3 separate regions of the Homo sapiens genome follow, and all the other regions are linked to region 3. The links are contacts of gene promoters, found by promoter capture Hi-C in blood cells and fetal thymus (Javierre and others, 2016). All regions are on one chromosome and are shown on one strand. The core of a region is centred on a gene start or on the middle of the fragment in contact, and the rest is flanking DNA. Distances in the headings are between cores, read along the strand shown. Region 1 has its middle 46 kb from the start of GLI2. Region 2 has its middle 96 kb from the start of GLI2. Region 3 holds the start of INHBB (inhibin subunit beta B).

Region 1 (2,832 bases), core at 24-2,523, 340 kb after region 3:
GAATTCTCTAGCCATGTGGTGACACCATACCATAAGAATGGGACCATGTTCCCCCTTTAAGGCTGACTTGAAGCAGAGACTTTGCAAGGTTCTATGAGTCTTCCTGTTGCAGGGTCTTCTCCAAGTCAGGCCCTCATGTGACCACCTTACACACAGCATGGGGAAGGGATGTTTCTAATGTACCATTACATCCTCACCCCATCTCCAGACCACCAAAATGTCCTTGACACTAAATTTCGTGTTTGTGGTAGAAGATTCACAGAGCAACTGAATTCCACACTTTATCAATCAGGATTGGTTTCCTTTAGAATATCCAGTTTTGCAAGATTATGGCAGGAGTAGGCTGGGTGCGGTGGCTCAAGCCTGTAATCACAGCACTTCGGGAGGCCGAGGTGGGTGGATCACGAGGTCAGGAGATCGAGACCGTCCTGGTTAACACGGTGAAACCCCATCTCTACTAAAAATACAAAAAATTAGCCGGGCGTGGTGGTGGGCACCTGTAGTCCCAGCTACTTGGGAGGCCGAGGCAGGAGAATGGCGTGGACCTGGGAGGTGGAGCTTGCAGTGAACCAAGATTGTGCCACTGCATTCCAGCCTGGGTGACAAAGCAAGACTCCGTCTCAAAAAAAAAAAAAAAAAAAAAAAAAAAGATTATGGCAGGAGTAGTTCAGACCATATGAAATTGCCATTTTTGCAGATCAACAGTTGAGTATCGATAGTTCCATATAGTTCACCTAAGAGCTACCAGACAAATGTCTGCCCATTCGAGCACTTCTGCCCTCAGGAGTCTGAAACCAGCAGAGAGCAGGGAAGGGACTGATTCGTTATTTTCTTGGTTCACCTCCATGCTCTCTCATTAATTTCACACCTCTCCAGCTGCAACACCTTCATTTCAGCACTCAGGATTAAAATGTGGTGAAGTTAGCATTGTCCCAGGACAGATGGAACTATAATACGTTTCACCAACTACACAGTTAATTTCATGAATTTTGATGGTTCAATCATAAGTCCTACTGCTACGTTTACCACCACTTGGTTGACCAATTGGAGTGTTAGTCCATGGAGGATGGACTGAGGCTGTCTTGGTCACAAGACCCCACCCTACCAGTGCCCACTGTGTTTTATTTTCCTGTCTTCTTTCCCTGGGCTGGGAGTGAAGATATGAAGAGATCTGTAAGGCAGGGACAATAACAACAAGTGAAGCCAATGCGGAAGCAAATTTTAGGAATCTTTGTGGAACCCACACCAGTTCTAAGTCCAATTTTTGAAAATTGAGGGCTTAGAGTCAAGGTAGAAGTCTGGAGGAGAATACTGGCTGCTAACAGGACTGGGTGCTGCCTATGAGCAGAGGCCATGTCTGATTCAGTGCTGGATTGCAGTGGCTAGCACAGGACCTACCACACAACATGGAATCCAGTTTAGTCAATATCAGCTCAACAAATATGGACGGTCTCATGTAATGTTAGATTCCATGATTGTACTAAGAAGGAGGAAAGAAGGAAAGGGCTGGATTTTCAAGCCTCCAGATTTGGATCCTGACTCACATCAGTAAAAAGTCCTGGGTAGAGCCACAGCTTCACGTATAGCTGGATCTGAGTGTACGGGTGCTGTCTGGCACCAGCTCAGATTCTCTCCACCTCTGCCTCTGCTTTTCTCTGAGATGCCTTTGGTGTCAGGCAGACTGTTTTCATGAGGGATGAAGAGGGCCCACAGCATCTCCTGGTTGACACCCCAGCAGCTCAGCAACCCCAGCAGAAAGAAAGCCGCTCCTCCCTAGAGTTCCAGAAAGAGGAAGAGATGTACCAGGAAGCTGAAATAATTGAGGTCCCCCCTGCAGATTTTAAAAAGCAGAAACATAAGTCAATTTCCACTGGAAGCTGGACACATTGATAGTTAAGAAACCCTGCAAACAAATGTGTATTTTTGGTCATGTAAACATAAGTGAGTTAGGAGCCGGGTGCGGTGGTGCACACCTGTAGTCCCAGCTACATGGGAGGCTGAGGGGGGAGGATCTCTTGAGCCCAGGAGTTCCAGGCAAGTCTGGACAACACAATGAGACCCTGTCTCAAAAAAGAAAAAGAAAAAAAACCCTAAGTGACCACAAGACTGGCTGTCCGTGAGAGCGGCTCACTAAGCTCATTTCACTACAGGGTAAGTGCTATGATGGAAATGACGCCAAGGAACTTCACTTACAGTCATCTGAAATGTCAGTCCCTCTTCAGACATTGCCAGCCATTTGGGTTTCCATTTTGGTTGAGGCCACAAAACAAGAGTTATGACCTGGTAAAGGTGAGGTGCAAGAACCCCACGAGGACTTGCAAAGAACGCATATTCAAAAAGCGGTTTAGCGGGAAGTGGAGGTCAGGGAGGAGGGGACGGGGGTTTCCTTGGAAAACGTCACTGGGGTGCTGGCAGCTCTTCTTTTTACCAGAAGTCAAAAACAAGGGATGTTCAGGTGACGACTGGAGAGCTGCAGTTTGGGCACAGTAGGCAGACGTCTGAGTGACACCTGAGGAACAGGAAGGATGAGAGAGGCTGCTGGCTGCTCTGTCATGGGGAGTTCCGCGGCACTCAGAGCATACTGGGACGAAAGAGGTTGATGTGGGTTCCTCATAGCTCCTGCCTCAGAAGGCCTCCTGCAGAGGCTAGAGGACATCACCCGGGGAAGACAGACACATGGCTGGACGCCTGGGGGCTACGGAGAGAGTTGTAAGCAATGAGCCAGAGAGCAGCGTTAGAATGGTCAAGGGAAGTTGGAGCTAGAGAGCCGCTGTACCGAAATGCCAGATTCCACCACCTGCCAGCCCAAGTGCCCAACCAACATCGGATCAG
Region 2 (2,700 bases), core at 132-2,631, 290 kb after region 3:
AGATTAGAAGTGAGGGGCCAGGCACCGCATGACCACTAGCTGCCTGATGCTTAAGAAAGAGAAGAAATTCCACTAGAAAGCACTTGAGCTCAGTTTAGAAACCATGGACAGTGCACCTACTATGAGCTGGGTGTGCTCCAGGTGGCAAGGCTTTGGCAATGAGAAAGCCAAGGAGGGGTACAGGGCCCAGCGGGAGCCGGAAGAAGTGGGAGGACACTTGGCCTAATCATGAGAAAGCTTTCTTGGAGGAGATGACCCCTGAGCTCAGCCAGGAAGGGTGCATGAGACTGGCCAGATGCTGGAGTGCAAGCAGGTCAAGCAGGGGAATGGTATGGGTGAACGCACAGAGGTGTGACTTAGCACACTTGGGCACGTGATGTACAAGGATAAACATCCTCACATGTTTCCACAGCCCCAGGAGCCTCACCATCCAGGCTGATGACCCCAAGCCAAAAGAGGTGGCCATGTCCAATATGCTCTTTGTGCAGGAAGAAAATTTGTTTGTTCAGACCAAATGAAGGCTTTGACTTATGGAACCCAGAGTACACTGCGTGGGCCGTCTCTTCCCCTCTTGGCATCGGCTGGTAAGAAGCGTAGGAATAAATTTAGCCCTTGACATGAAAGAATGTTTAAGCTTCCTGAAAAATGATCTGTTTTCCTCCTTTTCTTTTTCCTTCTTTATACACCTTTTTAAGATTTTATTGTGTGTATGTTTTTGATAAAAATAAAATCTTAAAAAGGTGTAGAAAGTGTCAGCTAGTTTTACTGAGTGTGTTAAGAAATATTAGTCACCTCCTGTGGAGGCTCATGAACTAAGTCATTATTTTAAAAGCTAGTAAAATAAAATGACAGAATCAAACATTTACCCTGTTTTTCCTATACGACCTGTATCACAATGTAGCCAAATAGATGAGAAGTGTCTTTTTAGAGAAGTATTCTGGATAGGAAATGAAAGCCGAATGATGGAGCATCACCCTCTAGTGAATTAATGAATCTAAGCTCTGATCAATAACTGCTAATATCACAAAATGAAAAACAATCACCCCCAATATGTCTCTTATGGAAGAATATAAGATCCCCTATGATAAAGATCTGCCAAAAAGAGACACCAACGCTGAAACTGATCAAGACTGCACTACAAGACTACGGCAGGTGCAGAGGACAGAGGGAGATGTTAGCCAAGTTCATGGAGACACAATTAGAAATATCCAGCAAAAGGCCGGGCGCGGTGGCTCACGCCTGTAATCCCAGCACTTTGGGAGGCCGAGGCGGGTGGATCACAAGGTCAGGAGATTGAGACCATTCTGGCTAACATGGTGAAACCCCGTCTCTACTAAAAATACAAAAAATTAGTCGGGCATGGTGGCAGACGCCTGTAGTCCCAGCTACTCTGGAGGCTGAAGCAGGAGAATGGCGTGAACCCCGGAGGTGGAGTTTGCAGTGAGCCGAGATCGTGCCACTGCACTCCAGCCTGGGTGACAGAGCAAGACTCCGTCTCAAAAAAAAAAAAAAAAAAAATCCAGCAAAAGCTGTAGGTCAGATGGCCTGTTTCAACAAACAAATAGCTGGCACAGAAGTGGAGAGGGATGCACAAAAGTGAGAATGAGAACTAGAAAGAGAGAGAAAGATCCTTATTTGGATCCTGATTCTTTTTTTTTTTTTTTTTTTTTGAGACGGAGTCTTGCTTTGTCTCCCAGGCTGGAGTGCAGTGGCGCAATCTTGGCTCACTGCAACCTCTGCCTCCCAGGTTCAAGCAATTCTCCTGCCTCAGCCTCCCGAGTAGCTGGGATTACAGGCATGTGCCACCACGCCCAGCTAATTTTTGTATTTTTAGTAGAGACGGGGTTTCACCATGTTGGCCAAGTTGGTCTTGAACTCCTGACCTCAGGTGATCCGCCTGCTCAGTTTCCCAAAGTGCTGGAATTACAGGCATGAGCCACTGCGCCTGGCCCCTGATTTAAGTTCTAACAAACTTTTTAAAAAGGAACATGCATTCAAAAATTGAAATTTTGAACTGACTGGATATTTGACATGAGAGAATTAATATTTTAAAATGTATGCATGATAAAAAAAGAACATACAGACACGACTTAAAGGGTTGACTAGATTTACTGGATTTGCTAAGAAAAGAAGCTTTTCCCAGACCTCTTCCACTACCCTCTCCCTTTCCTTTTTCACTACGTGCTATCATGCCAACCCTTTTAGCTATTTATCTCTCCATCTCTACAAAAAACATGTGAGTATTGCTACTTCCTGATGCTTTCATTCTAGGCATTATCCATTGACCCCAACTCTGGGAGACAAGAAGATGTGAGTTTAGCTCTCCTCATCCCTACATCGCCACCCTTTGTTCCCACCACACACACTTGCCTCTCCCTCAAACTCCCAGCAGAGATTCGTGGGACATTGGTTGGATAAAGATTCACTGTCTATGGTGTTACGGCGATTTGTTCAGAACTGAGCTATATAATAAACTACATTTGCTTTTCCTTCCTGCACATCCCCCCTGCTGCCACCCCAAGAGTTAATAATTATCTTGTTTTGTTTCTTTTCTATGTACTGATCACTAATTCAATACCAAACTCTCCATTGTCTAGCTATCTTTGCATTTGTTCTTTCCCATCAGGTATTCTGTCAATTTTGTCAGCATGGAGAAGACCCTCCCCAAGCCTTCTGACCTGCTGGGTACAAAGCTTCATC
Region 3 (2,703 bases), core at 142-2,641:
GGGAGGGGAGAGGGCCGGCTCGCCCCTCCTTCTCGGGAAGGCAGAAAGGAAAAAAGCGGTGGGAAGCAGGGGTGAGCGCGGGGAGCGGGCAGCCCCAACCTGAACAGATTCCGCTTTCTCCTCCTCCCCCCACCCCGGGAAGCTCGAGCGGGGAGGTACGGACCGTCTCCTCTCGCACGGGCAGGACGACACCCTCCCTCCCCCCCTTTTTTCTGCCAACGTCTATCTCAACGCGCGCGCACATACGGAGATTGTGCGGCTTTTTTCCCCCTTGGGAGAAAAAACGGGGAGAGTAAAAGAAGAGAGACCAAAGAGAAGAACTCCTCCTCGGCGAGCTCCGCACTCCGTGCCGCGGCCCGGCGCGGGGACGCCGCCGCCGCCCGCCCGCTCTCTCCCGGCCCTGCGGCGGGTGCCAGTACGAGCGCGAGCGAGGGCACTGCACCCGGGGACGCTGCGAGACTTTTCGGCGCTCGAGCCGACCTCGCCGCCGCCGCGGCAGGCAGAAGAGACAGGAGCGAGAAGGGCCCTGCCTCCCCCTCGCCTTCCTCGCCCGGCGCCCCGCGCCCGGCCGGGCCGCGCAGGCAGGCGGAGGGAAGGAGGGAGGCTGCGAGGAGGCGGGCGGAGCAGAGGCCCCGGCGAAGCGCGCTGCGGCCGCCCGCCCGTGGATGCGGCGCCCAGGGATCCTGGAGACAACTTTGCCGTGTGACGCGCCGGGAGGACTGCAGGGCCCGCGGCCGAGGGCTCGGCGCCGCCTGTGAGCGGGCCCGCGCGGCCGGCTCTCCCGGGCACCAAGCTTGCTCCGCGCCACTGCCCGCCGGCCCGCGGCGAGGACGACCTGCCCGTCTCCGCCGCCGGCGGCCCTTCCTGGCGCGAGGCAGTGAGGGCGAGGCGCTCAGGTGCGAGCGCGGGGCCCCGCCGCAGCGCCCGCCGCAGCGCCGCGCCAAGCCGCGCCCGGCTCCGCTCCGGGGGGCTCCAGCGCCTTCGCTTCCGTCTCAGCCAAGTTGCGTGGACCCGCTCTTTCGCCACCTTCCCCAGCCGCCGGCCGAACCGCCGCTCCCACTGACGCTGCTTTCGCTTCACCCGAACCGGGGCTGCGGGGCCCCCGACGCGGAAAGGATGGGGAGAAGGCTGCAGATGCCGAGGCGCCCCGAGACGCCCGTGCGGCAGTGACCCGCGACCTCCGCCCCGCCCGGCGCGCCCCTCGGGCCCCCGGGGCCCTCGGCGCCCCTTCCCTGCCGCGCGGGAACCCCCGAGGCCCGGCCGGCCCCCTCCCCCTGCGAGCCGGCGGCAGCCCTCCCGGCGGGCGGGCGGGCGGAGGCCCGGGCGGGCGCGGGCGCGGGCGGGGGCGGGGCGGGGCGGCGCGCCCGGAGCCCGGAGCCCGGCCCTGCGCTCGGCTCGACTCGGCTCGCCTCGCGGCGGGCGCCCTCGTCGCCAGCGGCGCACCATGGACGGGCTGCCCGGTCGGGCGCTGGGGGCCGCCTGCCTTCTGCTGCTGGCGGCCGGCTGGCTGGGGCCTGAGGCCTGGGGCTCACCCACGCCCCCGCCGACGCCTGCCGCGCCGCCGCCACCCCCGCCACCCGGATCCCCGGGTGGCTCGCAGGACACCTGTACGTCGTGCGGCGGCTTCCGGCGGCCAGAGGAGCTCGGCCGAGTGGACGGCGACTTCCTGGAGGCGGTGAAGCGGCACATCTTGAGCCGCCTGCAGATGCGGGGCCGGCCCAACATCACGCACGCCGTGCCTAAGGCCGCCATGGTCACGGCCCTGCGCAAGCTGCACGCGGGCAAGGTGCGCGAGGACGGCCGCGTGGAGATCCCGCACCTCGACGGCCACGCCAGCCCGGGCGCCGACGGCCAGGAGCGCGTTTCCGAAATCATCAGCTTCGCCGAGACAGGTGGGTCCGGCCCTCCGGCTGTCTGCCGCGGTCCCCGCTCGCTCCCGCTCTCCCTCTCCTTGCTAGCTCCGGCTGCCACCGCCGCCACCGCAGCCCGCGCGCCCTGGGGCAGCCTGGACTCCCGGCAGAGCTCCTTCGGCCGTGGCCCTGCGCGCTCCGCCCGGGTTGCAGTCCTCTTCCCCCAGGCCGCAGACCCTTGCCTGCTGCCTCAACCCCCCGCCGCCGATCGCCTGGCCCTCCACCCCTGCTCTCCGGAATCGGGCCCCAGCGCCTCTGGGCGCGCGTCCCCCTCCCGGCAGATGCGCGCGGCCCTGGCTCTGCGGGCACTTGCTTGGTGATTGCTTAATGTTTTTGTTTCCCACGATCGGAGTGTAGGCTTAGCAGTGTGGATGGAGATGTGTGTGCTTGTTGATATACGTGGGCCGGAGGAGAGAGAGAGTGTGTGTGTATCTGTGTGTGTGTCTGTGTGTGTGTGTGCCTGCGTGAGAGGCCCCTGGGGCCGCTTCCATCACCGGCGGCGTGGGCTTGCCAGGATTGCTGAAGCCTCGCTGGGGAGAGCTAGGCAACCTCTCTTCCGATTGTGTGGGCACCGGAATCGGGCGGAAGGCAGGCTTCTCAACAGGTCCATCATTTACACAGAGAAAGCCGCGGTTCGGGGACAGCCCCGTGCCTCTCGGCTTGCCTGGCAGCTGCAGCAGACCCCTCGCCCGAGAGGCAGAGTCGTAGTTAACAAAGGGTATGGCTCCTTTCTGGAATCCGCCCCCCCCCCCGGCCCCAGATTGCAAATCTCTAACACTGTCTAAATATAAAA

The links. The method cuts DNA at HindIII sites, captures the fragments that hold promoters and counts their contacts. A CHiCAGO score of 5 or more calls a contact.
Region 1: a fragment that was not itself captured here is called in contact with the fragment with the promoter of INHBB in region 3 in 2 of 17 cell types (M0 macrophages and M1 macrophages); the score reaches 5.7 in M0 macrophages.
Region 2: a contact is called between a fragment that was not itself captured here and the fragment with the promoter of INHBB in region 3, in 1 of 17 cell types (endothelial precursors). The highest score is 5.1, in endothelial precursors.

What each region holds. Positions count from the first base shown.
Region 1 is chr2:120,688,102-120,690,933 of GRCh38, forward strand. No RefSeq gene overlaps it. Among named protein-coding and RNA genes, the nearest start is that of GLI2, 46 kb to the right of the region's middle. The HindIII fragment of the contact is 5,337 bases long and covers 1-2,832 here.
Region 2 is chr2:120,638,394-120,641,093 of GRCh38, forward strand. No RefSeq gene overlaps it. Among named protein-coding and RNA genes, the nearest start is that of GLI2, 96 kb to the right of the region's middle. The HindIII fragment of the contact is 1,499 bases long and covers 633-2,131 here.
Region 3 is chr2:120,344,745-120,347,447 of GRCh38, forward strand. It overlaps INHBB (inhibin subunit beta B), which reads left to right and starts at 1,392. Exons shown (of 2, transcript NM_002193.4): 1 at 1,392-1,892. The coding sequence starts at 1,445. It overlaps LOC105373989 (putative cuticle collagen 91), which reads left to right. Exons shown (of 3, transcript XM_047446882.1): 3 at 143-1,249. The coding sequence ends at 1,170. The HindIII fragment of the contact is 14,502 bases long and covers 792-2,703 here.